Linked DNA regions of Homo sapiens: region 2 is linked to region 1. Evidence: promoter capture Hi-C in human tissues and cell types (Jung and others, 2019). All regions are on one chromosome and are shown on one strand. Each heading gives the region's core, a stretch centred on a gene start or on the middle of the fragment in contact. The rest is flanking DNA. Distances are from core to core; before and after follow the strand shown. Region 1 holds the start of EVPLL (envoplakin like). Region 2 overlaps MYO15A (myosin XVA).

Region 1 (5,297 bases), core at 876-3,375:
ATGACTGCCACCTCCCAGGGAGGGGCCAAGCTCAAAGGTGAAGCAGCCGGGCTCGGTGGCTGACGCCTGTAATCCCAGCTCTTTGGGAGGCTGAGGTGGGCGAATCTCCTGAGGTCAGGAGTTCGAGACCAGCCTGGCCAACATGCTGAAACCCCATCTATACTAAAAATACAAAAATTAACTGGGTGTGGTGGTGTGCACCTGTAGTCCCAGCTACTCAGGAGGCTGAGACAGGAGAATTGCTTGAACCTGGGAGGCAGGGGTTACAGTGAGCTGAGTTGGTGCCACTGCACTCCAGCCTGGGAGACAGAGCGAGACTCTGTCTCAAAAAAAAAAAAAAAAAAGAAAAGAAAAGGTGAGTCAGGGAGGCCAGGGGTGAGGCTGGCGTTGGCCCCCATAGTCATTCACACAAACGGCTCCTTTCTGAAGACAGTTGATTGCAGGCGTACAATGAGTGGTTAGAAGACAAGTGTCACCAGGAATAAAGTGGGAGCAGGCTGGGGCAGAGGCTGAGTGGCCAGTCATCTCTATTGGCATCTCACTCAAGACATGGGCCGGGAGCTGAGGACACTGGAGACCACTTTGTTTCCTCATTGCTGTCAGGGGCCTCTGCTGCCCTCCCCACCCCCACTGCCCCTGTCAGCTCCTCCACCTCTAGGAATGGGGGTTTACTGCATCCCCTCTCCATGGCCGAGTTCAGGAGCTTCCCATGAGATTCACCCAAAAAGGGCACAGGCCTTTTCTATCCCATGGGGGCCTGAGGCCAGTATCAGGTGTCGGTCCCTGGTCTCCCCCATCTGCTGGGACCTTTCTCTCCTGCCAGGCTGTTTTGTCCTCAGCGAGGCCTGCCAGGATGACCAGGTGATGTCACCCAGTCCGCCTGTTCCATCCCCTGGCTCCCCCTCAAGCCCTCCTTCCACTAAAACCACGGGGATTTCAGGAATGACCTGGAAAGCGACGCCACCTCTGCAGAAGGGGCCTGTTACGCTGGGCCAGTAAAATGAGCGCCTGGAAAGGGGGGTCCCATCGCCCCTTTCTTGAAGACGCTGAGGGTCACCACAGAAGGAAAAGGCAGCAGCCCTGGTCCCCAGTGTGAGGAAAAGACCAATAAGCTGGCATCACTCTCTGCCACTCAATCTGACTTCATAAAAGCCACCAGGGGCCATTTCTGGGTGGGGGAAGAGGCAGGTAGGAAAAGCCAAGTGCATCGGGCTCCCGGGCCTCAGCCAGAGCCCAGGCTTAGTGGCACCTGAAGCCAGCCCTGGTGCTGCTGCACTGTGCACACTTTATAAAATGGGGCCGGGCATGGTGGCTCATGCCTGTAATCCCAGCACTTTGGGAGGCCAAGGCGGGTGGATCACTTGAGGTCAGGAGTTCCAGACCAGCCTGGCCAACATGGTGAATCCCCTTCTCTGCTAAAAATACAAAAATTTTCTGGGCGTGGTGACGGACACCTGTAATCCCAGCTACTTGGGAGGCTGAGGCAGGAGAATCGCTTGAACCCGGCAGGCAGAGGTTGCAGTGAGCCGAGATCGTGCCTTTGCACTCCAGCCTGGGTGACAGAGCAAGACTTTGTCTCTTAAAAAAAAAAAAAATGGACCTTGTGCCAGTTGTCTGGAGTGAACGTCCCCTGGCTGCCCCATCATGTCAGTGGAGAACACAGAGCCAGGCCCTGGGCTGGCAGGACACCCCCTCCTCTCCTGGGGGATTGAGAGCTGTGGGTGGGGGCCAGCCTGGCAGCAGGGCCTCTGAGCTGGCTGGAGATGTTTATTAATCCTGAGCTCCAGAGCTGGGGCCTCTCCGCTGAGCCTGCGCCTGCATGTGCACGTCTGTCTCCAGACCCATCTGTCCTGGCCCAGCTCCTTCCCTATCTGGGTGTAATCGCCACCGCGCTCCCCTGGGCATGTGGGTGTAACAAGTCCAAACCTTCTGTGGGAGTCGGGCAGGCTCGGCCCCACCCTCAAGGCTGTGCCCTTTCCTCCCAGACTGGTTATGCAAGAGCAGGCATGAGTGTGGTTTTTGTGGGTGCATGCGCGGCAGGCCTGGGGCCTGGCCGCCTGCTGCCTCACCTGCAAGGAGGGGCCTCCCAGAAACTCCCTTCCCCAATGCCCAGCCGCCCCACCTTGCCAGACTTAGCTGACCAGCCAGCAAGGACGCCCGCTGCCTCCCACCTGCCCTCCTGCCCTCCTTCACCAGCCAAGCCCAGCCTGAGCCAGCACCTGCCTTTATGACCATGTTCAAGGGACTGAGCAAAGGCTCCCAGGGGAAGGGGTCCCCCAAGGACTCCCCAGCCAAGGGGTCCCCCAAAGGCTCCCCCAGCAAGCACAGCTGGTGAGTGGGACTAGGGGATGGGGAGCCAGGGAGCTAGGGTGGGGGTGGTGCCAGGCCCAGGTCCTTGAGCCACCTGGCGGCGGCCCAGAGCCCAGGACCAGCCCCGTGCTGGCATTTGGTGTCCCGAGGACAAAGGGCCCAGGGGTGGACTCTCTCCCTGCCTTGGGAGCCGCAGGCCCAGGCCGAACTTCAGCCCTGGCAGGAGGCAGGGGATGGCCTGGGGCTCCCTACATCCTCTAAGGGGGCCTGTGGGCCACAGATTGATGCTGCTCAGCGGGAGAAGTGCCGGACAGGAGCCTGCACTGATGCCCTCCTCTGCCAGAGGCTGGGACACAGGAGAGCCTGGTTGTGTGACTGCAGCTCTGCCCCAAGGCTCTACTTGGCTGGGATGACCCCTGGAGCCTGGGTGCAGGGCATGAGGACTGAGGGGGTGGGGTGGGATCCCTGGGGTAGGGATGCAGGGGCTGTGCTGCCTCCTGCCTAAGCCAGAGCCCTCCCCAGAGCTCTCACCCAGGGCCTTGTTGTATTGAAGAGTTAGGGGTTCATGGCTGGGCGCGGTAGCTCACGCCTATAATCCCTGACTTTAGGAGGCCAATGCGGGAGGATTCCTTGAGCCCAGGAGTTTGAGACCAGCCTGGGCAACATAGGGAGATCTTGTTTCTATAAAAAAAATAAAAATAAAAAACAGCCAGGTATGGTGGCTCATGCCTATTGCTTGAGCCCAGGAGTTTGAGGCTTCAGTGAGCCATGATCACACCACTGCGCTCCTGCCTGGGTGACAGACTGTGACTCTGTCTTTAAAAAAAAAAAAAATCCTGGTGCAATACCTCATGCCTGCAATCCTACCACTTTGGGAGGCTGAGGCGGGTGGATGACTTGAGCCCAGGAGTTGGAGACCAGCCTGGGCAACATGACGAAATCCCATCTCTATAAAAAATATACAAAAATTATCTGGATGTAGTGGTGCATGCCTGTAGTCAGAGCTACTTGGGAGGCTGAGGTGAGAGGATCACTTGAGCCCGGGAAGTCGAGGCTGCAGTGAGCCGTGATCACTCAACTGCACTCTAGCCTGGGTGACAGAGCAAGACCCTGTCTGTTAAAACAAAACAGAATAGAGCTGGGGCTTCCTTTTCCAGTGGGTGTGGTGCAGGGGGCACTGGGCCTCCCTTGGACCACCCGGTTCTCTGGGGCCCAGCCTCAGCTCTCTGTGGATGGATTGGGTGGCGCTCTTCCCACTCACTGGCTTCAGCTCATCTGCAGAGGAGGCAGCAGCCCGCCTGGGTCCAGGGTGTCGAGATAAGCTCAGGGATGAAAAGCTGGTGTGGGAGTGGGGGTGCCCATTACCCCGATAGGGATCAAGGCACCAACAGACACCGAGTCTGGGCGTCTGGGCCGACGGGAAAGACAGTGGTTAAGACTCTCAGCTAACACTCTCACTGAGTGACCTGTCCTCCCTGGGGCACCTGAGCCCCACCCAGGGTGGAGTGTGCAGCTCCTGGTGGGAGCAGCCATCCCAGGAGGCGGGACCTGAGCAGGAGTGCCCAGGGCCCAGCACCTGCAGCTCCCACTGTCCAGGCAGGCTCCCCAGCAGTGTGCTCCTGGCCTGGGGCAGCTCAGTCCTCAGGGCCCTGTTGGCTCTGGATCACCTCACGTGCGATCCACTCGTTTGACATGAACTTACTGAGCACTTACTGCATGCCAGGACTGTTCTAGGCACTGGAGATGTCGCTGTAGACAGAACCAACAGGCCCCTGCCTTCAAGGCACTAGCCCTCTAGTGGGATAAAAACTAACACGTGCTGGGTGCCGACTCTGCACCAGGCCTGCACTGGATGTTTCAGACAGATAAATTCAATTAATGCTCACAATAGCCCTAAGGCATAGATATTTTTATTAAAATCCTGCTTTACGAGTGAGGAACCTCAGGCACAGAGAGGTTGAGTAACTTGCCCAAGGTCACACAGCATTAATGATGGAGAAAGATGAAACCAGGCTGTCTTGGCCACAGAGTTCTTCCAGACTGCTGTGCCTTCACCAGCACTGTCCCGTTGCCTGGGGGGGCCCATCCTTTGACCCAGTTCAAGGCTTCCCCTGCCCCAGGATAATGATCCCCCATAAGGCACTGTGCTCATAAGGCTTGGACCAATCTGCCCTCTTTTAGGTCTGCTTGGCCTTGTGACCTCCACAGAGTGACTGCATGCACACAGCAGGTGCTCTATGGAGGCTGCAGGGCGAATGCACAGAAAAAGCCCTGGGGTGGAAGCAAGGTTTCCCCTCCGTCCCTGACCACGTAACTCAGAGCAAGTTAGGGCACAATCTGGGCTTTGAACCCTCAACTCTGGAGAATGTTAGGGTGCCCAGCAGTCTCTTGCGCCTGCCCCCGCTCCCCGACTCTGACAGTGTGAGGCTCCTCTAGACGGCTGCTGAAGCCAGCACTCTGGCAAAGCTCCCTGGGGTGGAGGAGGTATAGGGGAACACAGGGCTGGAGTGGGAGGAGGTGGGGGTGGGGGGCATGCTGCTGCCTCCCTGCCCCAGCCAGCCCAACTGCCCCTCCCAGGGCCCAGCCAGGCTGGCTCAGGTACTACCGGCTCACAGGGGGGAAGTGGCAGGCAGCTGGGTGGGGTCGGGAACTCACTGCCAGCACAGCTGGCTGAGGCTGGGACACCGAGGCCGCCTGACACCCAGCACCACACAGACCTGAGACCCTCACCTTTTGACCCCTCATGTGGCGGGGCAGTGCTAACACCCCCAACCAGGTCTAGCTCACAGAGCCTCCTGCAGAGAGAGACCCCAAAGTCAGGGCAGTGTGCTAGGCTGTGGGGGCGGGATGGGGTGGAGAGAGGGCAGGGGACGCCACCTGGATGGGGCACAGAGGGGCCTCTTCCACCGAGCTGCCCACTGTCCCCTCCACCCACCAAGAATGCCACCCAGGAGCTGACCCTGCTCATCTCCCACATGCAAGCCAGC
Region 2 (5,297 bases), core at 1,599-4,098, 200 kb before region 1:
CACGTGGCAAGAGAGGGAACAAGAGAGAGAGGGCCCAAACAGCCGTCTCTCGTGTGAACTATTAGAGTGAGGACTCACTCATTACCTTGGGTAACCAAGCCATTCATGAGGGATTTGCCTCCATGACCCAACACCTCCCACCAGGCCCTGTCTCCAACATTGGGGATCACATTTCTTCTCTTTTCTTTTTTTTACTTTTCTTTTTTTTTTTTTTTTTTTTTTTACTACAGTGTCTTGCTCTGTTGCCTAGGCTGGAGTAATCTCGGCTCACTACAACCTCTGCTTCCCCAGTTCAAGTGATTCTTCTGCCTCAGCCTCCCAAATACCGGGATTACAGGCATGTGCCACCATGCCCGGCTATTTTTTTGTATTTTAGTAGAGACGGGGTTTCACCATGTTGGCCAGGCTGGTCTCAAACTCCTGGCCTCAAGTGATCCACCCGCCTTGGCCTCCCAAAGTGCCGGAATTACAGGCATGAGCCACCATGCCTGGCTGGGCATCACATTTCAACACAAGATTTAGAAGGGACAAATATCCAAACTGTATCATTCCCCCATCAGAATGTCAGCTCCAAGAGAGCAGGACCGTATCCATCTTGTTCATGCTGTGTCCATAACTCAGCGCCTGGCACATAGTAGATGCTCCATACATATTTGTTGGTTGCATGGGTGGGTGGGTGGATAGATGGATGGATGAAGGCCTCTTTGCTTTTCCCACTTCCTTGCAGCACCACCTGACCTCCTTATGCTGCCCTCTCTGCCTCTGGCCTGTATGTGTCAGGGGCTACATTCATTCACTCATTCAGTATAGATCCACTGAGCATCTCTGTGTAGCAAAGATACTGAAGTGACTGAGACCCCCTCAGCTCTGGCCCTCACAGAGCCTCAGGTCTCAGATATAAAATATACCTTGATCAGTGCTGGGAGGGTATACAGGGGACCTGAGCTATCTGGGAGGTAATCAGGGAGAGCTTCCAGGAGGAGGTGATGTCTAAGTGCAGCAGTGTTGCACTAACAGACCTGGGTCCCTATCCTGCCTACCTTTGACAGGCTGTGTGAGGGGATCTTGAGGTGTCCCTGATTCTCACTGAGCCTCAGGTTCCACACTGTCAAATGCAGCAACAATCCCAGCAAGGCCTAGAACATGGCAGCATGTAGGTAGGTAAAGGATTGGCTGGAGGAGAAGACTCCATTTGCACACGCTGATTTAATTAGTCGAGGTGGCCCCCAAGGCAGGGCCAGCACAGCTAACCTCAACAGAGAGCACTTCAGAGTGTGATCCTCAAGCCTCTTACCATCCAGGTTCAAATCCCACCACCTACCAGTTGTGCAGTCTGGAGCTTCAAGGCTCGGTGCCTGTTTCCCCACCTGTGGAATGGGATATAATAGCTCCTGTCTCTTAGAGACACTGTGGGGATTAAAACAGGTAGGACACATCAGGCCTTTAGGACAAGGCCTGGCACACAGTTAACACTCAGAGTGCGCCTCTAACATGATTTTATCCTTTCTCAGAGCAGCTTCCCTGGGGGGATTCCAACAATGGCTTTCGTCTGAGAACCACATTCACAGATTGATTTCCGCAATTCCCTGATGCCTTCCCCTACCCTGCTCCAATTGGGAGCACTAAGCCTGGGTCACTGCCCATTGTGCACTGTGGGAGCCAGGCGGTAACCATGGCAACAGACAGTTAGAAACTGTTACCATTTATTGATTGGATTCATATTTTTTAAATCTAAAGAATTTACACGTGGCCGGGCGCGGTGGCTCATGCCTGTAATCCCAGCACTTTGGGAGGCCGAGGTGGGCAGATCATGAGGTCAAGAGATGGAGACCATCCTAGCCAACATGGTGAAACCCCGTCTCTACTAAAAATACAAAAATTAGCTGGGCGTGGTGGTGCATGCCTGTAGTCTCAGCTACTCGGGAGGCTGAGGCAGGAGAATCGCTTAAACCTGGGAGGCGGAGGTTGCAGTGAGCCGAGATCGCGCCATTGCACTCCAGCCTGGCGACAGAGCGAAACTCCATCTAGGAAAAAAAAAAAAAGAATTTACATGCAATAAAGCCTCACTGAATCCTCACCACAGCCCTGTCTGTGAGGCAGGCCCCTGGTCAATTGAGACCTTACAGATGAGGCCACTGAGGCTCAGAGAGGTGAAGCGATAGACCCTGGGTCACACAGCTCACACGGAGCAAAGCCGGAAGAGGCACTTGGTCTCCTGCTTGCTTACCCCTTGCAGCCCACACCCCACCATTCGGCCTTCCAGCTCTTCATGCTCCTCTCAGGCCCTGGGGGAGGTGGGGACAAGGGTCCCTGCATGAATGATGGTCTCCACCTATCTCCCAACCACCTCTCCATTCTGTACTTCCCACCCCAAGGTAAGAGCTGGGGAAGTGTTGGATGGGCGTGGACTGTCACTGTCACCTGCAGGGACTGGAACTGTGTCGTGTGGTGGCCGTGCACGTGGAGAACCTGCTCAGTGCCCATGAGAAGCGGCTCACATTGCCCCCCAGCGAGATCACCCTGCTCTGACCCAGCCCCCAGCCCTCCAGTACCTTCTGCCAGAAGACTCACTGTGTGGCCTCAGAGAAATCACTGAACCTCTCAGGATCAATGACCCCTGTAAGGGGCCAGAGCCTTGGAGGACACTAAGAGGAGGCAGGAGGAGCAACTCAAATCCCCAAGAACACAAGAAGACCCATCCTGAACTGGGATGGAATGGCAGCATGCAAACTTGGATCAGATAGCAGGAGGAACTTTCAAAAGTCTGGCCCACTGTGCAGTGGAGCAGAAGGCAGGACCATGAGGCCTCCTGCCATGTACCCATTGCAGACCCTGCCCCTAACTCCTGCCTATGACACAGAAGCCCCACACCAGTTGCCCAGATGAACTGGCCTCTGCCTTTGGTTTACTCAGGGTCTGATGTTGGAATCTGCTCCAACTCCACACCCTAGCCCTTACATGTCCTCCTAAGGGGCCCCTCCTTGTGCTGCCAGTCAGCCTGGATTTCTGGTCTTTGGTTATTTCTGTGCAAACAAAAGGTGTGCCTGGCAGCCATTTCTCCATGGAGTTGCTAAGTGGCCGGAAAACAAGCCTGAGGGAGGAGGCAGGAGTTGGAGTTACCTTAGGCCCCTGATTCACTGCCTATGAACAGACCATCCCCCACTCCTTGGGTATCCCCAACCCCAGACCCCCATCACTTGATGGGCCACACAAGTTTGAGAGTGGTACAAGGGAGAAGTTTGGGAAAAGCCTTCTTGGAAAATGGGACATTAGCATTGAGTTTTGAAAGATGAGTAGGAGTTTGCTAAGAATAGATGGAAGACAGCAGGATAAACATTCCAGAGAAAATCATGTTTATTCCCTGCTGTATCTTCCAGAACCTAGGAGGATGCCTAACAGAGAGTAAGCACTTAAAAAATATTTGTCATATGAATGAAAAAATAAACGAGTGAATGTTGATAGAAAGTGCTGGTGCTTTGGGGAGCTTGTGCGGGGCAGAGAACACTTGGGGAGACTAGATAGGTAGATGGGGGCATAGCTGCAAGATCCATGGCAGCAGAGAAAGGATTTATCTACTTATTCAGCCATTCAATAGCTATTAAATACCTACTGTGAATGAGGCAAATACCAGGCACTGGCAGTTAATCACAGTCAAATCACCGCAAACTAGGATAAGACCTGTGAGTGGGAGTTAGCTAGGGAAAGAGGAAAGAGAACAACATACGCAGGGGCCCTGAGGTGCGCATTACTTGTAGCAGGATCTGAGACTGAAGAGGCCGGCAAAGATGGTTTCGATAGGGCTTCTGGGCTACATTAAGAATTTAGGATTTCTGGGCCAGGCGCAGTGGCTCATGACTGTAATCCCGGCACTTTGGGAGGCTGAGGCAGGCGGATTGCCTGAGCTCAGCAGTTCGAGACTAGCCTGGGCAACACGGTGAAACCCCGTTTCTACTAAAATAAGAATAATATACAGGGGCAGCCTGCCCCTGTAATCCCAGCTACTCAGGAAGCTGAGGCAGGAGAATGGCTTGAACCTGGGAGGCAGAGGTTGCAGTGAGCCAAGATCATGCCACTGCACTCCAGCCTGGGTGACAGAGTGAGACTCCATCTCCAAAAAAAAAAAAAAAAAAAAAAAAGAATTTAGGATTTCTGGGCCGGGCATGGTGACTAACACTTGTAATCTCAGCACTTTGGGAGGCTGAGGCCAGTGGATCACTTGAGCTCAGGAGTTTGAGAGCAGTCTGACCAACATGGTGAAACCTCTCCTCTACTAAAAATACAAAAATTAGCCGGACATGGTGGCATGCACCTGTAATCCCAGCTACTCAGGAGGCTGAGGCACAAGAGTCACTTGCACCCAGGAGGCGGGGGTTGCAGTGTGTCGAGATCGCGACACTGTACTCCAGCCTGGGCGACAGAGCGAGACTCGGTCTCAAAAAAAAAAAAAATTTAGAATTTCATCCCAAGAGCCATGAGCAGCCTTCAAAGGTTTTCCAGAGGGGGAAGGGGAGGCACAACCTGCACAGACTGTACTTTGTTAAAGCCATTCTGACCACTGAACGGTGAGTGAATGTAGGAGTTGGGGAGACCAGAGGGGGCTGCTGCAGTGTTAGCTGGAAAACTTGTCATAGATTCTAGTGGTGGTGATGGGTGGGGAGAAGTTGGTAACTGGGGAGAGATTAGAAGGCCCAGCTGGCAGGACTAGGGGGTCAATCAGACCATCCTGGGATGGAGAGGATCAAGAAAGAGCCCCTGATACAAATGCCACAGGGCTGTCCTGCTTTTCACCACTGCCTTGGGTTGGCTTTCCCCAGAAGCAGACCCCAAGGTGAGGAAAGTAAGGAACTCACCAGAAAGAGTGTGGTGTCAATCAAGTTACCACTGTGCAGGGGCCATGCCTGGCAGCAGCTCACTTAACCCCTGGGGTTCTGCCTGCGGCGCTGATGCTCAGTATAGGGACCCCCAAAACAGAGCACAGTGGGCTCCAACATGAGGCAGCCCTGAGGCCTGCCCTCTGCCCCTCATTTCTCATTGTTGTGAGATCATACATGGTGTGTGTGAGGGGGAGGGGGTGTCAGGCTAATTCTTTTGCCCCAAAACCTTTTCCCTAGTCAAGCTGAACTATGAGGCTCAGGAAGGGATGATGTGGCAGAGTGAAAACGAGGGGGCCCTTTTGGCTTTCAGAATACAACTGGGGCCTCCCACACAGACTACAAGCGGCTTCTTGGAAGTAGATCATCCAGGTTGAGCCAAAATGTGAATCACCTCTTCTCTAGGTTGACACAGCCTCTCCCATA

What was found. Contacts are between HindIII fragments. The study calls those that stand out against the background at their distance.
Region 2: a fragment that was not itself captured here is called in contact with the fragment with the promoter of EVPLL in region 1 in 2 of the 25 tissues and cell types used here (mesenchymal stem cells and neural progenitor cells).

Annotation. Positions count from the first base shown.
Region 1 is chr17:18,375,653-18,380,949 of GRCh38, forward strand. EVPLL (envoplakin like) reads left to right here and starts at 2,126. Exons shown (of 11, transcript NM_001145127.2): 1 at 2,126-2,331; 2 at 5,250-5,297. The coding sequence starts at 5,286. RefSeq lists an enhancer at 4,427-4,928. The HindIII fragment of the contact is 26,383 bases long and covers 1-5,297 here.
Region 2 is chr17:18,176,342-18,181,638 of GRCh38, forward strand. It overlaps MYO15A (myosin XVA), which reads left to right. Exons shown (of 66, transcript NM_016239.4): 66 at 2,428-3,459. The coding sequence ends at 2,529. Among named protein-coding and RNA genes, the nearest start is that of ALKBH5, 4.8 kb to the right of the region's middle. RefSeq lists a silencer at 5,154-5,297. The HindIII fragment of the contact is 6,024 bases long and covers 1-5,297 here.